5 separate regions of the Homo sapiens genome follow, and all the other regions are linked to region 2. Evidence: promoter capture Hi-C in human tissues and cell types (Jung and others, 2019). All regions are on one chromosome and are shown on one strand. The core of a region is centred on a gene start or on the middle of the fragment in contact, and the rest is flanking DNA. Distances in the headings are between cores, read along the strand shown.

Region 1 (2,700 bases), core at 11-2,510, 650 kb before region 2:
TTGTGAGAATTCAATGAGATAATGTTAAGATAATGCAAGTTAAGTGCTCAGGAATTTTCTAAATGAAAATGGTATTACTATTGCCCCCATTTAACAGATAGCTCAAAATATCATACTCAACATTGAGTAAGGTTAAGAGGGAGACCGCTTCATCAATAAAGTACAACTGGAACCAATTTCTTTCTTTCTTTCTTTTTTTTTTTTTTGAGACAGTCTCATTCTGTCACCCAGGCTGGAGTGTGACCTCAGCTCACTGCAACCTCCACCTCCCAGGTTCAAGCGATTCTTGTGCCTCAGCCCCCCAAGTAGCTGGGATGCCAGGCATACACCATCACGCCTGGCTAATTTTTGTATTTTTAGTAGAGACAAAGTTTCACCACATTGGTCAGGCTGGTCTCGAACGCCTGACCTCAAGTGATCCACCTGCCTCAGCCTCCCGAAGTGCTGGGATTACAGGCTTGAGCCACCATGCCCAGCCTGCAACCAATTTCTGATCTGGCAGTGGTGGCTGGGGCCAGGAGTTTTCTGAGTACAAACCCACTGATGTGACGTCCCTGTAGAAAACTCTTCGGGAAAGCTTTTGTATCCCACCCCGTAGGCAGATCCAGCCACTCACTCCTCTGGACCCAGATACTCTCTGCTGACCTCTACTGCAACATCTGCTGCACTTTTGTATTTACACATCTGTCTCCCTCCATTAAATTCTGAACTCCTTGAAGGCAGAGACTATTTTATTAATCTTTGCAATCCCAGCCTCCAGCACTATACTAGCAACCAGTGAAATTTCTGCTAGTGAACAGGTGAAAGAATCCTAGGTGGGCGTTTTTCAGTAAATGGTTTCCCAAGGTACATGATACAACAACTCCTTAACAGTGAACCGTGTAGCTGATGTTTGTGAGATGAGCTCAAATTCCTCATCCATCAGCAGAATAGAAGGAGATGTAAGACACTGATGAGAAAGAAAATAAAGGAGAAGGCAGAGTGAGAAGCTGGGGGTCACTGGCATCATTGTTCAGTATACTACAGGGAGCAAAGGCAACAAAAGCTTGAGTCTGCAGCCCAGAGACTACTGAATCTGGGCTTTCTGTAGTGGGTAGTATGTATAAGGACAGCAGCAAAGGCCAGAAAATGCCATCCTTGTCAGCAATATCAATAGTGACAGAGATTCAGCCCTCCCTCTCTTTATTATCTGGTCACCCTGAGATGAAGCCCAACCACTGGCCCCACCAAGCTATCTTAATGGAAAGAATACTGGGCAAAGAGTTAGGAGACCATAAGTTAATCCCTGAGAATGTACTAAAATTTTCAATTAATAAATATTTCTTGGCTAGGCATGGTGGCTCACGCCTGTAATCCTAATACTTTGGGAGGCCAAAGCAGGAGGACTGCTTGAGCTCAGGAGTTCAAGACCAGTCTGGGCAATATAGTGGGAGCCTGTCTCTAAAAACAATTAAAAATTAGCCGGGCATGGTGGTACATGTTTATAGTCCCAGTTACTTGGGAGGCTGAGGTGGGAGGACTGCTTGAGCCCAGAAGGTTGGACCTGCAGTGAGCCATGACTGTGCCATTGCACTATAGCCTGGGTGACACAGCGAGGCCTTGTCTCAAAAAAAAAAAAAAAAAAAAAAAAAAAAAAAATTATTGAACATCTACTAAATGTTGGCCTTGCACTAGGCACTTGTGAAAAGGGTCTATCACTAATTTGCCGTCAAACCCTGGACAAGTCACCATCTCTTTTCTGAACCTTAACGTCCTCATATGATACATGGAAAAGAACCTCTATGTCACGGGATTGTGTTGTGATCAGATGTGCTTTGAACAATCTACCATATAAACTTGCAAATTTAAAGGTGATATTTTTGGGCTGGATGTGGTGGCTCACACCTGTAATCCCAGCACTTTGGGAGGCCGAGGCAGGCGGATCACCTGAGGTCAGGAGTTCGAGATCAGCCTGGCCAACAGAGTGAAAAAAAAAAAAAGTTTCTTTTTAAACTTGATTTGATCTTAACTAGAGGGCTTAGTAAAATGCAAGGATAGCCCCACTAAATGCCAAAGCCAACTTCCTCTGCCACTGTCTGGATAGAAATCCAGCAGAACATTCCTACCCCCTCAATTTTGTGATGGAGACGGTGACAGAGGAGCAGAAACTTACACATTCTCTTCAAACCCCTCTCAGGATCTTTTTTATATTACTGGTGTCAGAGCTTAGTTCTTAGTAGGAGCTGGACTGTGGGGACTGTGGGCCTACTGGATGAGTCCCCCAGATATAACTCAAATTTCTTACAGCAGGAAGAACAGAGTTCGACTTTGCACGGTAAGGGCACCTTTCCAGTTACTGAGATAATTACTTGACCCCTGGTCCTTCAACTGTTTGGAAACATCTGATGGCCATTAAGCCTGTTGTTTCCTCATTTTCCTGCCTACTGGGATAAACACATCAAAACAGAAAGCTTGATGCTCTAACAATGCTCTCTGATTAGTGGTTTGCAGGATCCTCTGTAATTTTAGGATTTGCTGGCTAGAAAAGGAACAATAGTGGAGTACAAATTATGGTGTGGCCTAGGAAAAAGTTAGGCACCCTGAGATTTAGACTTGGTTCTGCCATGGGCTGTAGACCTTGGTTAGAGACCTTAAGCTTCCCTCATCTTAAAAATTAAAGAACTGGACTGAGTCAGTTACATGAAATCTTCCACGGAAAAC
Region 2 (2,700 bases), core at 94-2,593:
AGATGGGGTTTTATCATGTTGCTCAGGCTAGTCTAGAACTCCTGGGCTCAAGCAATCTGCCCATCTTGGCCTCCCAAAGTGCTGGGATTACAGATGTGAGCCACCACGCCCGGCCTGCCACGGAGAGTTTTCAGGAGAGGGGTGATATAATTTGATTTAATAAAACAAACACAAATTCCCTTAGGCTATGTGTGGGAAACTGTTCTCAGGAGACAAGGTGACCATTAGCAGGCTACTGTGATTGTTTCTGATGAGACAATGGTGGCCTGGGTAGTTGTAGCTACCGAGTAGACAGATTTGACATTTTGGAGTTAGAGTTGACAGGGCTTACTGACAGATAGAATGTGGGGATCCAGGGAGGTGAAGAAAATGACCATTCAGTTCCTCCTAGTGCACCTGGAAGGATGGTTGGGCCATTTACTGAGATGGGCCAGAATGACAGGTACAGGTTTTTGGTGAAGGTGCATGTGTGGAAATGAAGAGTTCTGTATAAGTTAGAGATGGTCATCAGACACTCAAGAAGGGGTGTCAAGTAGGCAGCTGAGCTATGGCTCTGGTACTGCAGGGAGGGTCCAGCTGGAGATGTGAATCAGGAAGTCATTAACCTACAGGGCAGCACCCTCCAATAGAAATAGAGCGTGAACCTCTTAGGTGACTTAAAATTTCCCAGTAAGGACCGGACACGGTGGCTCATGCCTACAATCCCAGCACTTTGGGAGGCCAAGGTGGGAGGATGGCTTGCGCCTAGGTAGGAGTTTGAGACCAGCCTGGGCAACATGGGGAGACCGGTCTCTACAAAAAAATTAAAAAAATTTTAGCTGGGCGTGGTGGCGCCTGCCTGTAGTCCCAGCCACTTGGGAGTGTGAGGTGGGAGGATTGCTTTAGCATGGGAGGCGGAAGCTGCAGTGAGCCATGATCACACCATATTATTTTTCCCCCTGCTAGCCACATTGAAAAAGTAAAAAGAAACAACAGGTGAACTTAATTCAAATATTTCTACCACCATAGCTACAAATAAAAAAAACTAATTCAACAAATGTACTTATTTAATCCAATATATCCCAACAATTATTGCAGCACATAATCAATATAAACATTATATATATGAACTATTTGACACTATTTGACATTTCTTCTTCCACATCCAGTGTATCTGACATTTAGCGCACATTTGATTTGCACTCACCCACTTTGAGGAGCTCAATTGCCGCTTAAGTCCGTGGCTAGTGGCTGCCCTAAAGTTCAGCACCGCCACGGAGCTTTGGGTCCACCCGGACTGTAAAAAGGAAGCACTTCCGTTAGCATGACCCGGCCTGAAGTAGCGGCGGAACGGAAGTCGCTTGTGTATGAACGCAGCGGCGGACCTGTGAGGGGATCCGACTTGCCGGCAGAACTTACGCTGCGGGACCCCGGGCACTGTTGCTGCTGCGGGAGGTGAGCAGCGCGGCCGCCGGGGTGGGCTGCGCACCCGCTTTTGACTGGCGCCTGGGGCAGGAGGGGCCGCGGATCCCGGGAAGCGCACGGTGTTCAAGAGGGAGGATGGCACGGTGGTTATGGCGTGGGGCCTGGCGTCAGGCTGTAGGGGTTCGTACCCTAACCCCGCCGCCTAACCCCGTGTGACCTTGGACAGGTCACCTCCACTTCTTTCAAGGCTTCGCTTCGCCACCCGTGAAGTGGGGTTGACAGTACAGCCTGCCTCACAGGGTTGCTATGAGGGTTATAGGTAATAATTCGCGGAAAATGCTTTGCACCATGCCTAACGCATTGTAACCAGCCAATAAAATGTTTGGGATGTTGTACGCTGTTGTTCCAGCCTCATTGCCGACTGTCAGAATTAATTTCGAGCCTCCAGAGAGGCTTCTACATTGCGTTATGCAAAGCATTTTGCTTGTATTATTGCATTTGATCCTACGGTAGGCTTATGGAGATAGGTGCTATTATCCCCATCTAGAGGCTCCCAGAGTTTAAGACAGGTGCCTAAGGTTTAGCTGGCTTGGCAGCAGTGGGGTCAGATTCTGACTCCAGGGTCCATACTTTTTTTTTCTTGAGACGGGAGTCTTGCTCTGTCGCCCAGGCTGGAGTGCAGTGACGCGATCTCGGCTCACTGTAGCCCCTGCCCCGCGAGTTCCAGCGATTCTCCTGCCTCAGCCTCCTGGGTAGCTAGGATTACAGGCGCATACCACCACACCCGGCTAAGTTTTGTATTTTTAGTGGAGTTCATACTCTTAACCAGGATGCTCTAATACTCTCTGTGAAAGGGGGTGTGGGCTGTAAATGTGCAGTTAGTGAACGCTTACTGTATCTCAAGTTGGGTTTTTAATATCTTATTCTTAATAACACTTATGGGGTGGTAGGTGCTGCTTTTATCCTTATTTTACACATGTGGAATTGGCGGCTCAGAGACAGAAATTTGTCTTGCCAAAGGTCACACAGCAATTATGGAGTAGAAAGGGGCGATTTTAAAGTTCACACTTTAAGGCTGTTCTTCTCTGACTCTTGAAACTGGGTTGGCATTGCTCCTAAGTGCTAGTAGCAGATGTGGCAGGTCATCTCATTGGAAAGGTAATGGGCCACATCTGCTCTTTACACGTGTATAGCAGGGTTCCCCTAACCCTAGGTGGTAGAATGGTACCTGTCTGTGGCCTGTGAGGAACCGGGTTGCACAGCAGGAGGTGAGCAGCAAAGCTGGCATTACTGCCT
Region 3 (2,700 bases), core at 37-2,536, 620 kb before region 2:
ATGGTTGCCTATGCCCAGGCATAATAAAACTACTGGCTGTGTTGCTGTGGGGGTAAAAAAAATGACCTCACAACATAATAAAAAATGCAGCCAGGACACAAAATGGGTCAGTAAAACCCTCCCATACTCCCAAACAAAGACAGGTGTCAGGATGCCCAGTGTATCAAAAAGTAGGCCCTAGAGGACAGCTGGTTTCTTAATGACAGGTGACATTAGGGGTCTTGAGCCCAACCCATGTTCACGTATGAGAACATAATGCATGCCATAAATAGATGAAACTCAATCTAGGCAGTCTCCAAGCTGCCTGGAGGAACGTCCACAGAATACAACAGATGTGCAAGACAATCATTCTTGCCTCTGCATTTTCTGGGCAGCTAACAGCATTTCTCCTTTCTCAGCTGAAGCTATCTCTAGTTTTCCCCTCCTCCTTCCCTAGAAGATCCAACCCTGCAGGAATTATCAAGGGAGGCACGAGTAATTACTGTTTTCTTTTCTCCATGCTAATGAGACAGTTGGATGGTTCCCCTTCCCCCTCTTGAGCTGGAAGTGAGAATCTAAAGCTTTATAATCAGTAACCAACACACCAAAGCTCCGACCAGACACTGCTCTGTGCAACTGAGACTGTGTAGAAAATGGCTTTCATGCCCCTGATGAGACCAGAGTTGGAAGGGCTCAACCATTTTATAAAAAGGGAGGTAAGACCAGAGCAGGGAGGGGAATCTGTCCAAAGTCACAGAGGGAAGTCAGTGGCAGGGCCAGAACCAGTCTCCTTATTCCCAATCAGGCCACCTCTCACCTCACTCAGACCATGTTGGCCAGGCTGGTCTCGAACTCCTGATAATCTCAGGTGATCCGCCCGCCTTGGACTCCCAAAGTGCTGGGATTACAGGCGTGAGCCACCACACCCAGCCTGTCATTGGTTTTTGAATACCTATTCAAAAACTGATATGTAAGCTTGAAATTTGCAGTTCCAGCCTCCACACTGAGGTCCCCTCCAAAGTTATTCTATACTGTATTAAGTCTGAGTGAGGTGAGAGGTGGCCTGATTGGGAATAAGGAGACTGGTTCTGGCCCTATTATACCATAGACTGACTGTGGGGCTCTTGTGATACTCCAGCATATGATCAGTGCTGACCATAAGGCTTCACTTTCTAGAGTGCACAAAATTAGGTGCTTTATTCTATAAATGGGGTTAGCTCCACATGAGAGCCCCTGCCTTAGTCACCCGCTTAAGACTTCAGACCCCCACCCCCTCGAACTAAAGCCCAACTCAAAATCCAAGGACAGGCCTCCCCACCAATGGCCATTGTCCAGAGACTGCTTGCCAGCCTGGATGTCCACTTGGGTTTGCTGCTCTCTCCACCCCTCTGTAAGGAAGGCAGCATATAGTAGAAACAATTAGCAGATAGACCTAGGTTTAAGCCATGGCTCTCCCACCAAAACTGGGTATCCTTGGTGCTTTGACCACCGTTCACTTGCCTGTCTCTTCTACCACTCTTCCCTACTTGGGAGCAAGAAATATTCAGTTGTTTTCCTGTATCCACAATGAGTCAGTCACTGTCTACCAAATGATACTCTCTAAAACTTAAGTCCTCACATTTGTAAAATGGTGATTAAATCACCTACCTCAGAATAGTGAAGATAAATGAGGGGAAAAAATTACGTAAACTGCCTAGACTAGTGCCTGGCCCTTCTTCCTCTACTGTATCTTGGATTCCCAGGGCCAAAAGTTTGTCTGTACTGAACTACACAGCCCATCCTGGAGACATCATGCCTTGCTGACGGGGTCTGTTCCACTCTAGCAGTCAGACTGACTGCCAGTTCCTGGAACTCTACCAATAAAAACAGATACGACTACTCTCCTCACAGGTGAAGGTAGTGAATTTCAAGCAAATGATCTTTGAGCATATACTAATATTCTAGATTGAAAAGAGAGGGGAACTTTGGGGGAAAAAATGCTATGCTATGAAGCTGGAGGCTTAGAGAAGAAATCCCAAGTCCCAAAAAGTGGCTGAAGATAATCTGCACTGGAGCCTACAGAAGGGCCAGAGACATGAAATGAATTGCCTTTGGTCACATAGGAAGCTGAAGGCAGAAATGAGCTTAAAACTCACCACTGTGGTCTCCCTAGATGGTACTTTTTCCGTCCTTCAGGGCAGATGCACAGTGCTGAAGGAAAAAGGAAGTGAGGCATAGGAGGCTCAGTAGAGTGGCAGGGAGAGGCACATAGGGACATCAAGTGGCACTTACAAAGTTTCTGTTTGGTAAAGGTGACTGAGGGATAAAGCCAGCCTTTAGTTTCGTAGGGGCCTTATGTGCTCTGGCAGTTGAGGGGCAGAAACAAGTTCAAACTGGCCAGAACAAGTGTCAACAGTTATGGAGGGGAAAGGTATAGGGTGTCTCAAAGTATCATAAGCCCCTCCACCCACAACATCAGCTGCTTTGAGTGATCAAAACCTTCTGCCTACCCATCCCCAACTTCTCAACTCATACTATGATCCAGATTTTCTACGGTATCTGTCTTTTCCACTAGAGGGCCCTCAAACTTAAAAACTAGGGGTGAGGTATAAGGTATAGAGAAGAGAATAAGAGCTTTGTCCAGGCTGTGCATGGTGGCTCCCATCTATAAACCCAGCAGTTTGGCAGGCCGAGACAGGAGACCACCTGAGCCCAGGAGTTCGAGACCAGCATGGGCAGCCA
Region 4 (2,700 bases), core at 175-2,674, 730 kb before region 2:
CGTGGGGAGAGGGAGATGGAGACAGAGATGGAGAGGGAGGGGGAGAGGGAGAGGGAAAGGGAGAGTTCTTTTTTGTTTAACCAATTGAGTTTTGAGTGTTCTATTAGTTCTTTCAACTATGGCCTATCCTTGGGAATTATAGGGAATTCCTGTTGTATGTGTAATTTTCCACTGATTTAAGAATTTTTGGAATGTTTTACTACAGTATCCTGGCCCATTGTCAGTTTTAATTTTTTCCAGAACTCCCATGAGAGCAAAACAATATAATAAATGTCTTTTAACATGGGAAGTACTTTCTCCTGTCTCGCAAGTTGCCCATACGAAATGTGAATAAGTATCAACTGTCACATGGACAAATGATAATTTTCCAAATGAAGATACATGTGTGACATCCGTTTGCCATAACGCATTAGGACATAGACCTCTGGGATTAACTCCCGCCTCTTGAGTGGGCAGGTGTAGGACTTGACTCTGGGTGCAATGTTGTACAATATTTTTTGCCTGTTTCCATGAGATATCAAATTTATTTTTAATCCTGCTGCATTTACATGAGTCAAAGCATGAAGTTCTTGTGCTTTTATGAATGCAGATGATACCAGTAAGTCAGCTTGTTCATTTGCTTTAGTTAAAGACCCTGGTAAATTAGTGTGTGCTTCAATGTGAGTAATACAAAATGGGAAATTTCTTTTTCTCACAGTTTGTTGTAATAAGTTGAACAGCTGGTTTAACTGATCATCAATACTATATTTGATTAGGGCTGTCTCAACATCCCTTGTAGCCTGTACTACATATGCAGAATCTGATACAATATTAATAGGCTGATTAAAATCTTGTAACACTGTAATGACTGTAACCAACTCTGCTCTTTGAGCCCAGTGATATTGAGTTTCGATGACTTGTTCTTTTGGCCCAATGTAAGCTGCTTTTTCATTGCTGGAACCATTAGTAAACACCGTCAGAGCATTTTCTAAAGGTTCATGTCTGGTAATTTTAGGTAAAATCCAAGTAGTCAATTTTAAAAACTGGAAGGTTTTTGTTTTTGGGTAATGATTGTCAATAATTCCCACAAAATCAGCAAGACCAGTCTGCCATGTACAAGAATTGATAAAGGCTTGTCTAACCTGTTCCTTGTTTAAAGGAACAATGATTTTGTCTGGGTCACTTCCACACAATTTTATTATTCATAACCTTGCCTGACCAATTAATGTAGCTATTTGATGCAATGTAAAAGTCTTAATTGTACTGTGAGGAAGGAATGACCACTCCACAAGATCAGTATTTTGAACAATGATGCCTGTCAGAGAATGTGCAGTAGCAAAAATCAAAAGTTGGAGTGGGACCAAGGGATCTATTCTATTTACTTGTGCTGACCAAATTTTTTCTTCAACTAATTCAATTTCTTTTGCTGCCTCTGGGGTCAATATTCTTTTACTATTTAAGTCCGGGTCCCCTCTTAAGATAGAGAACAAATTTGACATGGCATAAGTAGGAATGCCTAAAATTGGCCAAATCCAATTAATATCTCCTAGCAATTTTTGAAAGTCATTTAATGTTTTTAATGTGTCTTTTCTTATTTCTATTTTTTGTGGTTTAATTTTTCTATTTTTTACCTGCATCTATGTTAACTGGGATTGGCGGCCCTATTTTTGCGGATCTGTTGTTGTACCCCATCAATCCACCAGGTCTTAAATTGTAAAAATTGAGAAGGTGAGAGTGATGATTTGGCCAAAATTTCCCAGTCATAAGGAATAAGTCTATTTCCATGAGCAATGGAATCTAATAATGTTCTCATATAAGGAGAATTGGGTCCATACTGTTTTACTCCCTCTTTCATGTCTTTTAGCATTTTTATAGAAAAGGACTCATATCTGGCATCAGCTTGGGGAGGGCCCTTCTCCAGGTAGTATGGGCTCTAATATTACTTGAAATTAAAACGCCTCAGTATCTCTCCTTGTTTTCTTGCCTTCTCAATAATTTCATGTAATGCACCATCCTGTCCACTAGGTGGTGGTGTAGGATTAAGTCTCATAGTGGGCAGCTGAGGCTATATCGCCGTGCGTGCCCTGTGGTGCTGGAAACGTTCCTGGCTGTCCATACTGATTTTCTGGGGGGCGGCTGATACTGAAGTTCGGCTGGCGGTCAGTATTGATAGGGTACTGGCGGTTGGGTCTTACTTTCTACCAGCTGATATTGTGAATACTGTATCTGGATTGGCATTGCTGTGATAGAGACTATCCTTTTCTATCTGATATTCTCTTGGGGTTTGTACTTGTCTAACCTGCATTTGAGGTTGTAATGTTACGGGCATCTGAACTGTGGGAGGAGGAGTTGGCCATCGTGGGTTAGACTCTGATGGCCCCAATAGTTCTAGACCTTTTCCCCCCAATTTTGATGGTTCATAATATATTACCTCCTGTAATTGGTTGTAGTCAACATTTTCCGTTGACTGAGCCATTACACTCTTCTACCCTTTTTTTCTTTTTTTTTTTTTCGAGACGGAGTCTCGCTCTGTTGCCCAGGCTGGAGTGCAGTGGTGCCATCTCGGCTCACTGCAAGCTCCGCCTCCCAGGTTCACGCCATTCTCCTGCCTCAGCCTCCCGAGTAGCTGGGACTACAGACACCTGCCACGACGCCTGGCTAAGTTTTTGTATTTTTTTAGTAAAGACAGGGTTTCACTGTGTTAGCCAGGACGGTCTCGAT
Region 5 (2,719 bases), core at 83-2,582, 600 kb before region 2:
GAGATTTTCTTCAAAGCACAAAATGAAGAAAAGTAGGTAGGGGTATAAATGAAACAAGACTGACAATGAATTGCTAACTGTTGAAGCCAAGTGATGGGTAAATCATATTTCATTAACCTATTCGATTTTGTGTATGTTTGAAATTTTCCATATTAAAAATAAAGAGGAATTGGTTAGGTTTCAATCCTAGCCAACTCCATCTATCATATCAGCAGCGTGACCACGGCATATCTTTCTTTTGTTTGTTTATAGCATCTTTATTCATAATTGACAAAATTTGGAAGCAACCAATGACACCTTCAATAGGTGGATAAACTGTGGCACATCCAGACAATGAAATATTATTCAGCATTAAACAGAAATGAGCTATCAAAACATAAAAAGACATGGAAGAAACTTAAATGGATATTACTAAGTGAAAGAGGCAAATCTGAAAAGGCTACATACTGTATGATTCCAACTGTATGACGTTCTGCAAAGACGTATCTGTGAAGACTATAAAAAGACCAGTGGTTGCCCACGGCATATCTCTTAACCTCCCTTTGTCTCAGTTTCCAATCTGTATGATCACGATCAATACAACCTACTTCTTAGGGTTGAGGTGAGAATGAAATAATATTTTATATGTATAAAAGGCTTCGCACATAGTAACCTTCAGTAAATATTAGCTCTATTAGTATAAACAAAAGGTACCAAGTATGATATCTCAACACAGTGGACACTCAATATCACTAATATGCAAGGCTGTGTTAACATTTAAAACCCAGGTCAGATTTTTTTTTTTTTTGAGAAAGAGTCTCACTCTGTCACCAGGCTGGAGCGCAGTGGCACGATCTTGGCTCATTACAACCTCCAACTCCCTGGTTCAAGTGATTCTCCTGCTTCAGCCTCCCCAGTAGCTGGGATTACAGGCACGCGCCACCACGCCCAGCTAATTTTGCTATTTTTAGTAGAGACGGGGTTTCACTACTCCGTCAGGATGGTCTCGATCTCCTGACCTCATGATCTGCCTGCCTCAGCCTCCCAAAGTGTCAGGATTACAGGCCATGAGCCACTGCACCCAGCCCATCAGATTTTTAAATCAACTACTCGACTAGTCTCCTCGAGAGGGGGCCTAGAAATTCTCTAGTGAATGTCCCTAGTGGCATCTCTAGCACCCTGTCTATCTTGACAAACACCCCGCGACCTGACACAGGATCAGAAGCTGACTAATGTTTAACATGAAAATGCTGCTCTCTGGAAGGAGGCAGGGCCACCCTATTTTCCCCAACCAGGTAATTTAAGGTACATTTTCTAATATTTGCTGACAGAACAAAGAGGAAAGGCTCTAAGACATGATCAATGTTCATGCCAACCTTCAAAGTGATTTGGTAAAACTACACAAAATAAACACCCAGCTAGGGTCCACCGGCAGGATAAAAGCTGACAAAGAAATGGCAATTTTTCCCTGAGCAAATATACAACTAATAGATGAGCTCTGAGAGACTAAGTTCTTTAGGTTTTAGTATTCCCTCCCCAACCATTTTAAGAAGAAAAACTCTCTTTTGATATACTTCAGGTATGACTGTTTACTGGATTAATTTCTTTCTTGAAATGATGTAAGTATAAGCAAAGAGCTCATTCTCATCCTTTTATCCAGTTTAAATACAAATTGGCTTCATAACGACATGACCTTGTTCTGCTCTGAGAGGCTATGAGAAGGTATCACCCATCTCCAAAGTGTGGGACACTTCCACCACCTGCTCATTAGCAGGAATATGGATACTACTCGGTCTAGTCATTCATCTGTGCCTCTACTCAAGTTGTTCCCATTGCACAGAATGTTCTCCATCTCTGCAGCCTAATCACCTGTGACCATTCTTTCTGGAAAAGGGGGGAAGGGAAGCACATCGGTTGAGAAAAGATAACTGGGTGTTGCTTCTGCATAGTATGGGAGATAAGGTACAGACATGGCAATATTGATTGGTATTTCATAATCTGTAAGTACAACCAGACAGAATATTAGAAATTAAAATGGTCCTGGACAACAGATGGTCATTATCCTTATCCTACAAAGTCCAGCACAAATACTCACTGGTCCACAAATGTTCCTTGGGAACTCCCCCTCTGCCCCTCCTCCATGTACAAAGGAAGCAATCTCTTCCCCTTCTGAACTTCCCAATCATTGTACCCCTTTATGGTACTTGCTATGTGAGAATTCATAGTATGGTTCTTAAAATTCATATCTATAACTACTAACCAGAATGGCTTCAAATGAAAAAGATAGACAATGCCAAGTATTTACAACAACACAGAACAACAGCAATTTTCTCATCACTAACCATGTAACCTGGTAGACCTTTTAAAACTGTTTGGAGGCCGGGCACGGTGGCTCACGCCTGTAATCCCAGCACTTTGGGAGGCGGAGGCGGGCGGATCACGAGGTCAGGAGATCGAGACCATCCCGGCTAAAACGGTGAAACCCTGTCTCTACTAAAAATACAAAAAATTAGCCAGGCGTAGTGGCGGGCGCCTGTAGTCCCAGCTACTTGGGAGGCTGAGGCAGGAGAATGGCGTGAACCCGGGAGGCGGAGCTTGCAGTGAGCCGAGATCCCGCCACTGCACTCCAGCCTGGGCGACAGAGCGAGACTCCGTCTCAAAAAAAAAAAAAAAAAAAAAAACTGTTTGGCATATTTACCAAAGGTAAACATATGCCTAACCTAGGACTTACAGTATGAGG

Evidence for each region. The method cuts DNA at HindIII sites, captures the fragments that hold promoters and counts their contacts. A contact is called where the count stands out against the background at its distance.
Region 1: a contact is called between a fragment that was not itself captured here and the fragment with the promoter of CDK5RAP1 in region 2, in 1 of the 25 tissues and cell types used here (bladder).
Region 3: a contact is called between a fragment that was not itself captured here and the fragment with the promoter of CDK5RAP1 in region 2, in 2 of the 25 tissues and cell types used here (hippocampus and ovary).
Region 4: a fragment that was not itself captured here is called in contact with the fragment with the promoter of CDK5RAP1 in region 2 in 1 of the 25 tissues and cell types used here (H1 embryonic stem cells).
Region 5: a fragment that was not itself captured here is called in contact with the fragment with the promoter of CDK5RAP1 in region 2 in 1 of the 25 tissues and cell types used here (small bowel).

What each region holds. Positions count from the first base shown.
Region 1 is chr20:34,052,322-34,055,021 of GRCh38, reverse strand. All of the region lies in intron 2 of RALY (RALY heterogeneous nuclear ribonucleoprotein), which reads right to left. Among named protein-coding and RNA genes, the nearest start is that of MIR4755, 4.6 kb to the right of the region's middle. The HindIII fragment of the contact is 3,882 bases long and covers 1-2,700 here.
Region 2 is chr20:33,400,162-33,402,861 of GRCh38, reverse strand. CDK5RAP1 (CDK5RAP1 mitochondrial tRNA methylthiotransferase) reads left to right here and starts at 1,343. Exons shown (of 14, transcript NM_016408.4): 1 at 1,343-1,434. LOC124904889 (a long non-coding RNA gene) reads right to left here and starts at 1,280. Exons shown (of 2, transcript XR_007067567.1): 1 at 1,187-1,280. RefSeq lists enhancers at 1,203-1,402, 1,543-1,632. The HindIII fragment of the contact is 17,720 bases long and covers 1-2,700 here.
Region 3 is chr20:34,022,130-34,024,829 of GRCh38, reverse strand. The region is part of intron 1 of RALY (RALY heterogeneous nuclear ribonucleoprotein); the gene reads right to left. Among named protein-coding and RNA genes, the nearest start is that of MIR4755, 26 kb to the left of the region's middle. The HindIII fragment of the contact is 3,139 bases long and covers 1-2,700 here.
Region 4 is chr20:34,129,152-34,131,851 of GRCh38, reverse strand. No RefSeq gene overlaps it. Among named protein-coding and RNA genes, the nearest start is that of EIF2S2, 18 kb to the right of the region's middle. RefSeq lists an enhancer at 1,855-2,149. The HindIII fragment of the contact is 4,025 bases long and covers 1-2,700 here.
Region 5 is chr20:34,003,576-34,006,294 of GRCh38, reverse strand. All of the region lies in intron 1 of RALY (RALY heterogeneous nuclear ribonucleoprotein), which reads right to left. Among named protein-coding and RNA genes, the nearest start is that of RALY-AS1, 11 kb to the right of the region's middle. The HindIII fragment of the contact is 6,853 bases long and covers 1-2,719 here.